2 separate regions of the Homo sapiens genome follow, and region 1 is linked to region 2. Evidence: promoter capture Hi-C in human tissues and cell types (Jung and others, 2019). All regions are on one chromosome and are shown on one strand. The core of a region is centred on a gene start or on the middle of the fragment in contact, and the rest is flanking DNA. Distances in the headings are between cores, read along the strand shown.

What was found. The method cuts DNA at HindIII sites, captures the fragments that hold promoters and counts their contacts. A contact is called where the count stands out against the background at its distance.
Region 1: a contact is called between a fragment that was not itself captured here and the fragment with the promoter of PRLHR in region 2, in 5 of the 25 tissues and cell types used here (dorsolateral prefrontal cortex, liver, spleen and 2 more).

Annotation. Positions count from the first base shown.
Region 1 is chr10:118,657,344-118,662,010 of GRCh38, forward strand. No RefSeq gene overlaps it. Among named protein-coding and RNA genes, the nearest start is that of PRLHR, 64 kb to the left of the region's middle. The HindIII fragment of the contact is 3,219 bases long and covers 735-3,953 here.
Region 2 is chr10:118,594,077-118,598,736 of GRCh38, forward strand. PRLHR (prolactin releasing hormone receptor) reads right to left here and starts at 1,572. Exons shown (of 2, transcript NM_004248.3): 1 at 1,440-1,572; 2 at 1-1,174. The coding sequence starts at 1,168. The coding sequence ends at 56. RefSeq lists enhancers at 531-1,339, 1,340-2,148, 2,149-2,957. The HindIII fragment of the contact is 7,132 bases long and covers 1-4,150 here.

The DNA of each region.
Region 1 (4,667 bases), core at 1,094-3,593, 64 kb after region 2:
GATAATTGTTTTGTTTGAGGAGGCTAAAGATATGGCTCCAGTCCCTTCTAGCTTGTTGGGTTTCTGCTGAGAAATCTGCTGTTAATCTAATAGATTTTCCTTTATAGGCTACCTGGTGCTTCTGTCTCACAGCTCTTAAGATTATTTCCTTCACCTTAACTTTGGATAACCTGATGACAATGTGCAATGAATTTCCCAGGTGTTCTTTGTGTTTCTTGTATCGCATGTCTAGGTCTCTAGCAAGGCCGGGGAAGTTTTCTTCGATTATTCTCCCAAATATGTTTTCCAAGCTTTTAGAATTGTCTTTTTCCTCAGGGATGTTGATTATTCTTAGGTTTGGTTATTTGACATAATCTCAGACTTCTTGGAGGCTTTGTTCATATTTTCTTATTCTTTTTTCTTTGTCTTTGTTGGATTGGGTTAATTCGAAGACCTTGTCTTCAAGCTCTGAATTTCTTTCTTCTACTTGTTCAATTCTATTGCTGAGACTTTCCAGAGCATTTTGCATTTCTAAAAATGTGTCCAAAGTTTCCTTAATTTTTTATTGTTTTTTCTTTAAGCTATCTATTTCCTTGAATATTTCTCCCTTCACTTCCTATATCATTTTTTGGATTTCCTGGCATTGGGCTTCGCTTTTCTCTGGTCCCTCCTTAATTAGCTTAATAACTAACCTCTGGAATTCTTTTTCAGGTAAATCAGGGATTTCTTCTTGGTTTGGATCCATTGCTGGTGAACTAATGTGATTTTTAGGGGGCGTTGACAAGCCTTGTTTTGTCGTATTACCAGGGTTGGTTTTCTGGTTCCTTCTCATTTGGGTAGGCTCTGTCAGAGGGAAGGTCTAGGGCTGAAGGCTGCTGTTCAGATTTTTTTGTACCATGGGGTGTTCCTTTGCTGTAGACTCTCCCCCTTTTCCTGTGGATGTGGCTTCCTGTGAGCTGAACTGCAGTGATTGTTATCTCTCTTCTGGGTCTAGCCACCCAGCTAGTCTATTGGGCTCTGGGCTGGTACTGGGGGTTGTCTGCACAGAGTCCCGTGATGTGAACTGTCTAAGGGTCTCAGCCACCAGTGCCTGTTCTGATGGAGGTGGCAGAGTGTGCAATGGACTCCATGAGGGTCCTTAGCTTTGGTGGTTTAATGCTCTATTTTTGTGCTGGTTGGCCTCCTGCCAGGAGGTGAAGCTTTCCAGAAAGCATCAGCTGTAGTAGTGTGGAGAGGGACTGGCAGTGGGTGAAGCCCTAGAACTCCCAAGATTATATGCCCTTTGTCTTTCCCTACCAAGGTGGATAGGGAAGGACCATCGGGTGGGTTGGAGATAGGCATGTCTAAGCTCAGACTCTCCTCAGGCAGGTCTTGCTGCAGCTGCTGTGGGAGATGGGAGTGAGATTCCCAGGTCACTGGAGTTGTGTACCTCAGAGGATTATGGCTACCTCTGCTGAGTGATGCAGGTTGTCAGGGAAGTGGGGGAAAGCCAGCAGTCACAGGCCTCACCCAGCTCCCACACAAACTGAAGGGCTGGTCTCACTCCCACTGTGCCCCCACAGCAATAGCCCTGAGTCTATTTCTAAGCAGAGGGCAAGATGGGCTTGAAAACTTGCCCAAGGCTTTCTGCCTCCCAGCTGCGAAAGAAAAGGACTTTAGTTCTTCCCCTGCCTGTGAGGTCTGCAAGCAGGATTCACACCCTTCCTCCAGTTCTGGCAAGGAGGCTTCTCGCCTGGTTCAAATGGTTACAAAGTTCAGCCAAAGAATTCCTTCACCCTGTGGAGTTTCACCCCGTGGAGTTTCACCCCCTGCTCCTCTGGCCACCCTCCTGATGGATCCCTGTGGTGCCAGCAGGGATGAGCTGCTTGGGGACCCAGCAAGCTCCCAGGGCCTTTCTGTGGCTTCCTCTACCCCTGTATTTCACTTGGCTCGGTTCTCTAACTTGATTTAGCTCCAGGTAAAGTTGGAAACTTCTCCTGCCAACAGATCTTCGGCTTCTCCAGTTGAGGAGTTGTGTTTGGGAGAGGAGGGTCTCCCTTTCCCACTTCCACAGTTGGGGCACTCTCAGTATTTGCAGTGTCTCCATGGGTCCTGCAGGAGCAGTCTGCTTTCTTCAGAAGGTCTGTGGGTCCTCTCAGGATTGCTGGTTTGTTCTTGCAGTCAATCTGGAGCTAAAATTCAGTGCAAGCCTCCGCATGCTGCTCTGTCCGGAGCTGCAATCTAGACCTGCCTCCCATCTGCCACGATCCTGAAATCTGTTTGTTTTAATTTCATTTAGTTCTGCTCTGATCTTAGTTGTTTCTTTTCTTCTGCTGGGTTTGGGTTTGGTTTTTGTTTCTATAGTTCCCTGAGGTGTGACCTTAGATTGTCTATTTTTTGATGTAACTTTTTGTGACTTTTTGATGTGGGCATTTAATGCTATAAACTTTCCTCTTAGCACTGCTTTTGCTGTATCCCAGAGTTCTGATAGATTGTGTCACTATTACTGTTCAGTTCAAAGAATCTTTAAATTTCCATCTTCATTTCATTGTTGATACAATGATCATTCAGGTGCAGGTCATTTAATTTCCATGTATTTGCATGGTTTTGAGGGTTCCTTTTGGAATTGATTCCCAATTCCACTGTGGTGTGAGAAAGTACTTGATGTAATTCCAATTTCTTAAATTTGTTGAGACTTGTTTGTGGCCTATCATATGGTCTATCTTGGAGAATGTTCCATGTGCTGAAGAAAACAATGTATATACTGCAGTTGTTGGTAGAATGTTCTGTAAATATCTGTTAATTCCATTTGTTCTAGGGTATAGTTTAAGAGCATTGTTTCTTTGTTGACTTTCTGTCTTAATGACCTGCCTAGTGCTGTCAGTGGTGTACTGAATTGCATTCCCCCACTATTATTGTGTTGCTCTCTATCTCATTTCTTAGGTCTATTAGTAATGGTTTTAAAAATTTGGGAGCTCCAGCTGGGCACGGTGGCTCATGTCTTTAATCCCAGCACTTTGGGAGGCCGAGATGGGCAGATCACAAGGTCAGGAGATCAAGACCATCCTGGCTAACACAGTGAAACCCCGTCTCTACAAAACTACAAAAAATTAGCTGGGCGTGGTGGCAGTTGCCTATAATCCCAGCTACTCGGGAGGCTGAGGCAGGAGAATCACTTGAACCCGGGAGATGGAGGTTGTAGTGAGCCGAGATCACACCACTGCACTCCAGCATGGGTGACAGCAAGACTTCATCTCAAAAAAATAAAATAAAATAAAAAATAAAAAATAAAAAGTTGGGAGCTCCAGGGTTAGGTGCATATATACTTAGGAATGTGATATTATCCTGTTGCACTAGTCCTTTTATAATTATATAATGTTCTTCTTTGTCTTTTTTAACTGCTGTTGCTTTAAAGTTTGTTTTGTCTGATCCAAGAATAGCTATGCTCACTTTTGGTGTTCATTTGCATGGAATATCTTTTTCCACTCCTTTATCTTAAGTTTATGTGAATCCTTATGTGTCAGGTGAGTCTCTTGAAGACAGCAGATACTTGGTGAATTCTCATCCATTCTGCCATTCTGTATCTTTTAAGTGGAGCATTTACACCATTTACATTCAATGTTAGTATTGAGATGTGAGGTACTTTTCTATTCATCATGCTATTTGTTGCCTGAATACTTTGGATTTTTTTTCATTATGTTATGTGTTTTATAGGGCCTGTAAGATTTATGCTTTAAGGAGATTCTATTTTGGTGTATTTTGAGGATTTCTTTCAAGATTTAGAGCTCCTTTTAGCAGTTCTTGTAGTGCTGGGTTGGTGGTGGCAACTTCTGTCAGCATTTGTATCTTTCCTTCCTTTATGAAGCTTAGTTTCACTGGATACAAAATTCTTGGCTGACAATTGTTTTGTTTCAGGAGGCTAAAGATAGGACCCCAATCCCTTCTAGCTTGTAGGGTTTTTGCTGTGAAGTCCGCTGTAATCTGATAGGTTTTCCTTTATAAATTACCTGATGCTTTTGCCTCACAGCTCTTAAGATTCTTTCCGTCATCTCGACTTTAGATAACTTGATGACTGTGTACCTGGGTGATGATCTTTTTGCAATGAATTTCCCAGGTGTACTTTAAGCTTCTTGTATTTGGATGTCTAGATCTCTAACAAGGCCAGGGAAGTTTTCCTCAATTATTCCATCAAATATGATTTCCAAACTTTTAGATTTCCCTTCTTCCTCAGGAACACCACATATTCTTAGGTTTGGCTGTTTAACATAATCCCAAATTTCTTGGAGGCCTTGTTCATTTTTTAATTATTATTATTCTTTTTTTCTTTGTCTTTGTCTGATTGCGTTAATTTGAAAATCTTCTTTGAGCTCTGAAGTTGTTTCTTCTACTTGTTGGATTCTATTGCAGAGACTTTCCAGTGCATTTTGCATTTCTTTAAGTGGAGTCCATTTCCAGAAGTTGTGATTATTTATTTATGCTATCTATCTCACTGGAGATTTTTCCATTCATATTCTGTGTCATTTTTTTTTTAATTTAAGTTGGACTTCACCCCTCTCTGATGCCTCCTTGATTAGTTTAATGATCAACCTTCTGAATTCTTTTTCTGGCAATTCAGAGATTTCTTCTTGGTTTGGACCCATTGCTGGTGAGCTAGTGTGATCTTTTGGAGGTGTTAAAGAACACTGTTTTGTCGTATTACCAGAATTGTT
Region 2 (4,660 bases), core at 322-2,821:
GCCCTAGGAGGCCAGTTGAAGTGGAGCTCCTTGACCAAGGCCTGGCTAAGTGGCATCAGATGACCACGCTGACGGTCATATTCTGGCCATGGGGGGCTATCTTGCGGGGCCAAGCGACCAACAGTTTGCGCAGCTCCTCGCGGAAGCTGTCGTGCAGCCAGGCGTAGATGAAGGGGTTGTAGCAGGCCGAACTCATGGCGAGCCAGTGGCAGAGCAGCTGCACCAGCCCAAAGGCGTAAGGGTCGATGGCGTGGGGGTCGAGGTCCCGCAGCAGGTTGAAGACGTGCAGCGGCAGCCAGCAGACGGCGAACACCACCACGATCACCACCAGCAAGCAGAAGGTGCGCCGGCGCCGAGCGCGGTCCCAGTCGGCCTGGCTCTGGGTCACGCAGCCCGGCACCACGCGGTTGCGGAGCTTCACTGACACCCGGACGTAAGACAGGAGGATGACCAGCAGAGGGAGCAGGTAGGTGACCAGCAGCAGCCCCCAGGCGTAGAGCTGGCGCTGGCGCTCCTGGGAGCCCCAGAACTCCTCGCAGAGGCGCACGTCGTGCGGCTTGAGCTCCACGTGATAGGTGTGCACGGCGGCGGGCAGCGCCAGCACCGCGGACAGCGCCCAGATGGCCAGCACAGCGTAGGCGCTGAGGCGCAGCGAGATGCGCCGCCTCAGCGGGTGCACCAGCACGACGTAGCGGTCCACTGCGATGGTGGTGAGCGTGAACACCGACACATAGACGGTGACCGGCTGCAGGAAGAAGACCAGGTGGCACAGGCCGCCGCCGAACACCCAGCCGCGTGGCTCGAAGGCATAGGCCAGCGTGAGCGGCACGCAGGCGGTGCACATGAGCACGTCGGACAAGGCCAGGTTGCCGATGAGGAAGTTCGTCACGTTGTGCAGCCGGCGCACCCGCGCGATCACCAGCACCAGCAGGCAGTTGCCCACCAGCCCCACGACCACCACGACGCTGTAGAGCAGCACGATCAGCCCCTTCAGCTGATGCACCAGCTGCAGGCTCTGGAAGGGCGTGACGGCTGGAGCGTCCGCGCCAGCCACCGACCCGTTGCCCGCCGAGGCCTCTGCGCTCTGGTTGGCGGGAGTTGTGACCGCCGGCGGCAGCCCAGAAAATAAGTCAGAAACCCTGGGGCCCCGAGTGGTCGATGAGGCCATGGCCACCTGTTCAAAGGTAATCAAAGTCCGTCACTTCCCTTGCCATACTCCATCCGACCTCCTACACCAGCCGCGCCCCTCCCCCATCGCCTGAGTCCTCCCTTGGGAATAACCGGCCACAGAACAACAGCAAAAGTAGCAAAAAGTGTTGTCCTCTCACCTCTGTAAAATAAACCTAAGCACGGTTAGAACATACGGTTTATTTAAACGCTTCCGCCTCTATTTACGGTCCTCGCAGTCCACGCAGGCAGACTCAGGAGCGCGATCCTACCTGGGAGTGGGGTTTGGAGAGCGGGAAAGCACTCGCGGGAAGAAGGGGCAGAATTTCTGCTGGCCCTCGGTAGTCCTCTGCCCACGTCGGTGATCCGGTCTCGCTTCTCCGCGGGAGCTGAACGGATCCAAATGTTTCCCAGTGGGCTAGCAGCTTCTTAGAGGGACTGGGAGCGCCTCCCCTCAGCTCCGCCCCCCACTCCAGCTCCCATGTATGGAAAATAGGGGTGGAGCGCGCTCTGCCATGCTCGGTGCTTAGAGAACTAGTGAAGAGGACAGTGTGGGGAGGATGGAATCCGAAACGGGAGGAGGGGCCGGCAAACCTGGCCAGAGCAGCGAAGAGGACGAATCTCTACTGCAGGAGCTTGCACGGCCCCTGGAGGGTCAGGGTCCGGAGGAGCGCACAGTGGAGGAGGGCGGAGGAGAGGCGCGAAGCGTCAGGCTATCGGGAGGAGCCGGTGCAGTCTTAGGAGGGAAGGAGCGGGGAAGGAAGTAGCGGTGGGAGATTGCAATGCAGCTGGGGGCTTGAGAGAGGCACGACTGACCCGTTCTTAAAGGCTGGATCCTGCCTAGCGGCCAGGTTGCGGAGGGCAGAGACGCTAGAGGGCTCGGGCTGGGATTTAACAGCAGAGCCTGGAGCTGGTCGCGGACCTGAGGACCCTCACCCTCCCGTGGCCCCGCCACACGAGCCCCCTGCTTGGCTGCAGCGCGCTCAGCGGGCAGCGGGTCCGGCCAAGCCAAAGGCAGGAGTCAGCACCACGGACAGCTTCCGCTGGATCTGCCGCCCCTCGGGCGGATGATGTGGGGAGGAGCAGGGGAAAATGACTAGGGAATTCCTGCCCCTCTCTGGATCCGGGTGTTTGGGGAAGGAACCTGGTCCGGTTCAAAGACCTGCCTCGCTGCCTGCTTTCTGGGCTGGGGCTGAGAAGAGTAGGGTGGAGTGGAGGCAGCTGAGCCGGGGGCCTGGGGGTCGGAGACTCATGACTTTTGCTCCTCTTGGTGGTCACCGCACTCAGTGCCAAGGACGGCGTCGTCTTTTACCTCCCGGGGTCAGAAAATGCAGCTCTCCTGCCAGTTATTCTACACAGGCACACTTCAGTCTGGCCCAGCGACTCCCCGGCTCACCCTTTCTCTCGCTTTCTTTCTCGGCTACCGCGACCTGTGCCGTATCTGGCTGCTTCTCCCAGCACAGAGTAGTTCCTGGACTGAGACTTGACCCCTCCCTCCTTGACTGAACACCCACAGGCCTCTTCTCTTCATTTTAGGATTTTTTAAAAATACTGGTAATTGCAGATTTCAGCTAGGGTAACAAAAGTAACAAACATTTGAGAAGCTTAGGCGTTTCATAAAATCTTCAGTAGTATTAAGTCCTCATTGAAATGCAAATTAGCCTGGCCCACGGGGCAAGAGCCAGGGGAGGAGGGGCCTTTGTAAGCTCCCTCCTTAGAAGCTATCTCATTCCCTCAGCCTCTTGTTTCCTTTTTCCAGAGCATGGAGCTTCATTGTCTCCTCTCTGATAAGTCCTTGTACTTTGTCCTCTGGCTGCAGATATTCCAGTTAGACTGGAAACTAATATCAATTTATTCCACCCTCCAAATTTAAATGAATCACTCATATAGAAAAAAGTCAATATTGGAACAAAAGTAATCAATGTTATGCACCTCTGTCCATCCTAAGCTCACGGTCCCTGAGTTATAATCAATTTAGCTAAAACCAGTGTGTGTGTATATATACATGTATATGTTAGGACAAGATCTCACTCTGTCACCCAGGCTGGAGTGCAGTGGCACAATCATGGCTCACTGCAGCCTCAACCTCCCAGGCCAAAGCCATCCTCCCACCTCTCAGCCTCTCAAGTAGCTGGAACTACGGGTGCACACCACCATGCCTGACTAATTTTTGTTTATTTGTTTCTTTTGAGGCGGAGTCTTGCTCTGTCGCCAGGCTGGAGTGCAGTGGTGTGATCTCAGCTCACTGCAACCTCTGCCTCCCAGGTTCAAGCGATTCTCCTGCCTCAGCCTCCCGAGTAGCTGTGACTACAGGCACGTGCCACCATGCCCAGATGATTTTGTATTTTTAGTAGAGACGGGGTTTCACCATGTTGGCCAGGATGGTCTTGATCTCTTGACCTCGTGATCCGCCCACCTCGGCCTCCCAAAGTGCTGGAATTACACACGTAAGCCACTGCGCCTGGCCTAATTTTTTGTAGAGGTGAGGTTTTGCCATGTTGCCCAGGCTGACTGAACTCCTAGGCTCAAGCAATCCTCCCGCTTCAGACTCCCAAAGTTCTGGGATTACAAGCATGAGCTACTGCACCCAGTCTCAGTATTATATATACTTTTTTAATTGCAGAGCTCTAAATAGGATACAATCAGTGCCTGCCTAATACCTTGCCCAGTAATTTTTCTCATCATTTTCACCTGCAGGGTTTTATGCACCCAAGAGCAGGGGCACTCTTTTGTTTCAAAATCTCTTAAGCAGAGGAAATTGCGATAAAGTCAGTGAAAAAGGATTTGGGATGTTGTTAGGCCTCCTAACTAGAGCCATCATTCTGGTCAATATCATTATATTGGTCAATTATCATATATAATAGTAAAAGTAATAATACGAAGACAACTTTGTCAATAACTGAAGGTCATGTAAACATGGATATTTGAAGTTTCAATATTGGGGCACCCTCCAGAGGAAAGAGTGGATCATTTGCCAAATTCCAGATAAAGTTGGGCAAGCATTTTAGTATTATCAATATTTGCAAGGTGGAAAGGAAGTGAACAGCTGTCCTTTGAAGAGGGAATGAAGATTTAATGTGGCCTATTAGGGCTTCATTCCCTCTTCTCCTCACTGGAGTTAAGGCTAGTCCCTCTCCCAGCCAGCACATCATGATTAAATCATGCTAATGTTCAGACTGTCCAGTACTAAGAATGCTCCAAAAACCTGAGAGAGCATAAATAAACAAAAAAAAATAGGATAAATGAAGGAAAGGTAATACTTCATACAGTAGACAGCAAACTATGGGATTTTACTTCCTCCCATTCTCCAAAAGTCTTCAATAGCCCATCCAACCAAGGCCAGATGCTTTCGCATGGTATTTCCAACCAGTGTGCACTCCCTTTCTGATATGTCCTCATTTTTTTGGTCTAGCTTCCCACCTCTGTCCATTTTACTTCCTAGGTACAAGCCAAACTTTGCTGGGTGCTGAGATATCCTCACCATTCCTGTCTA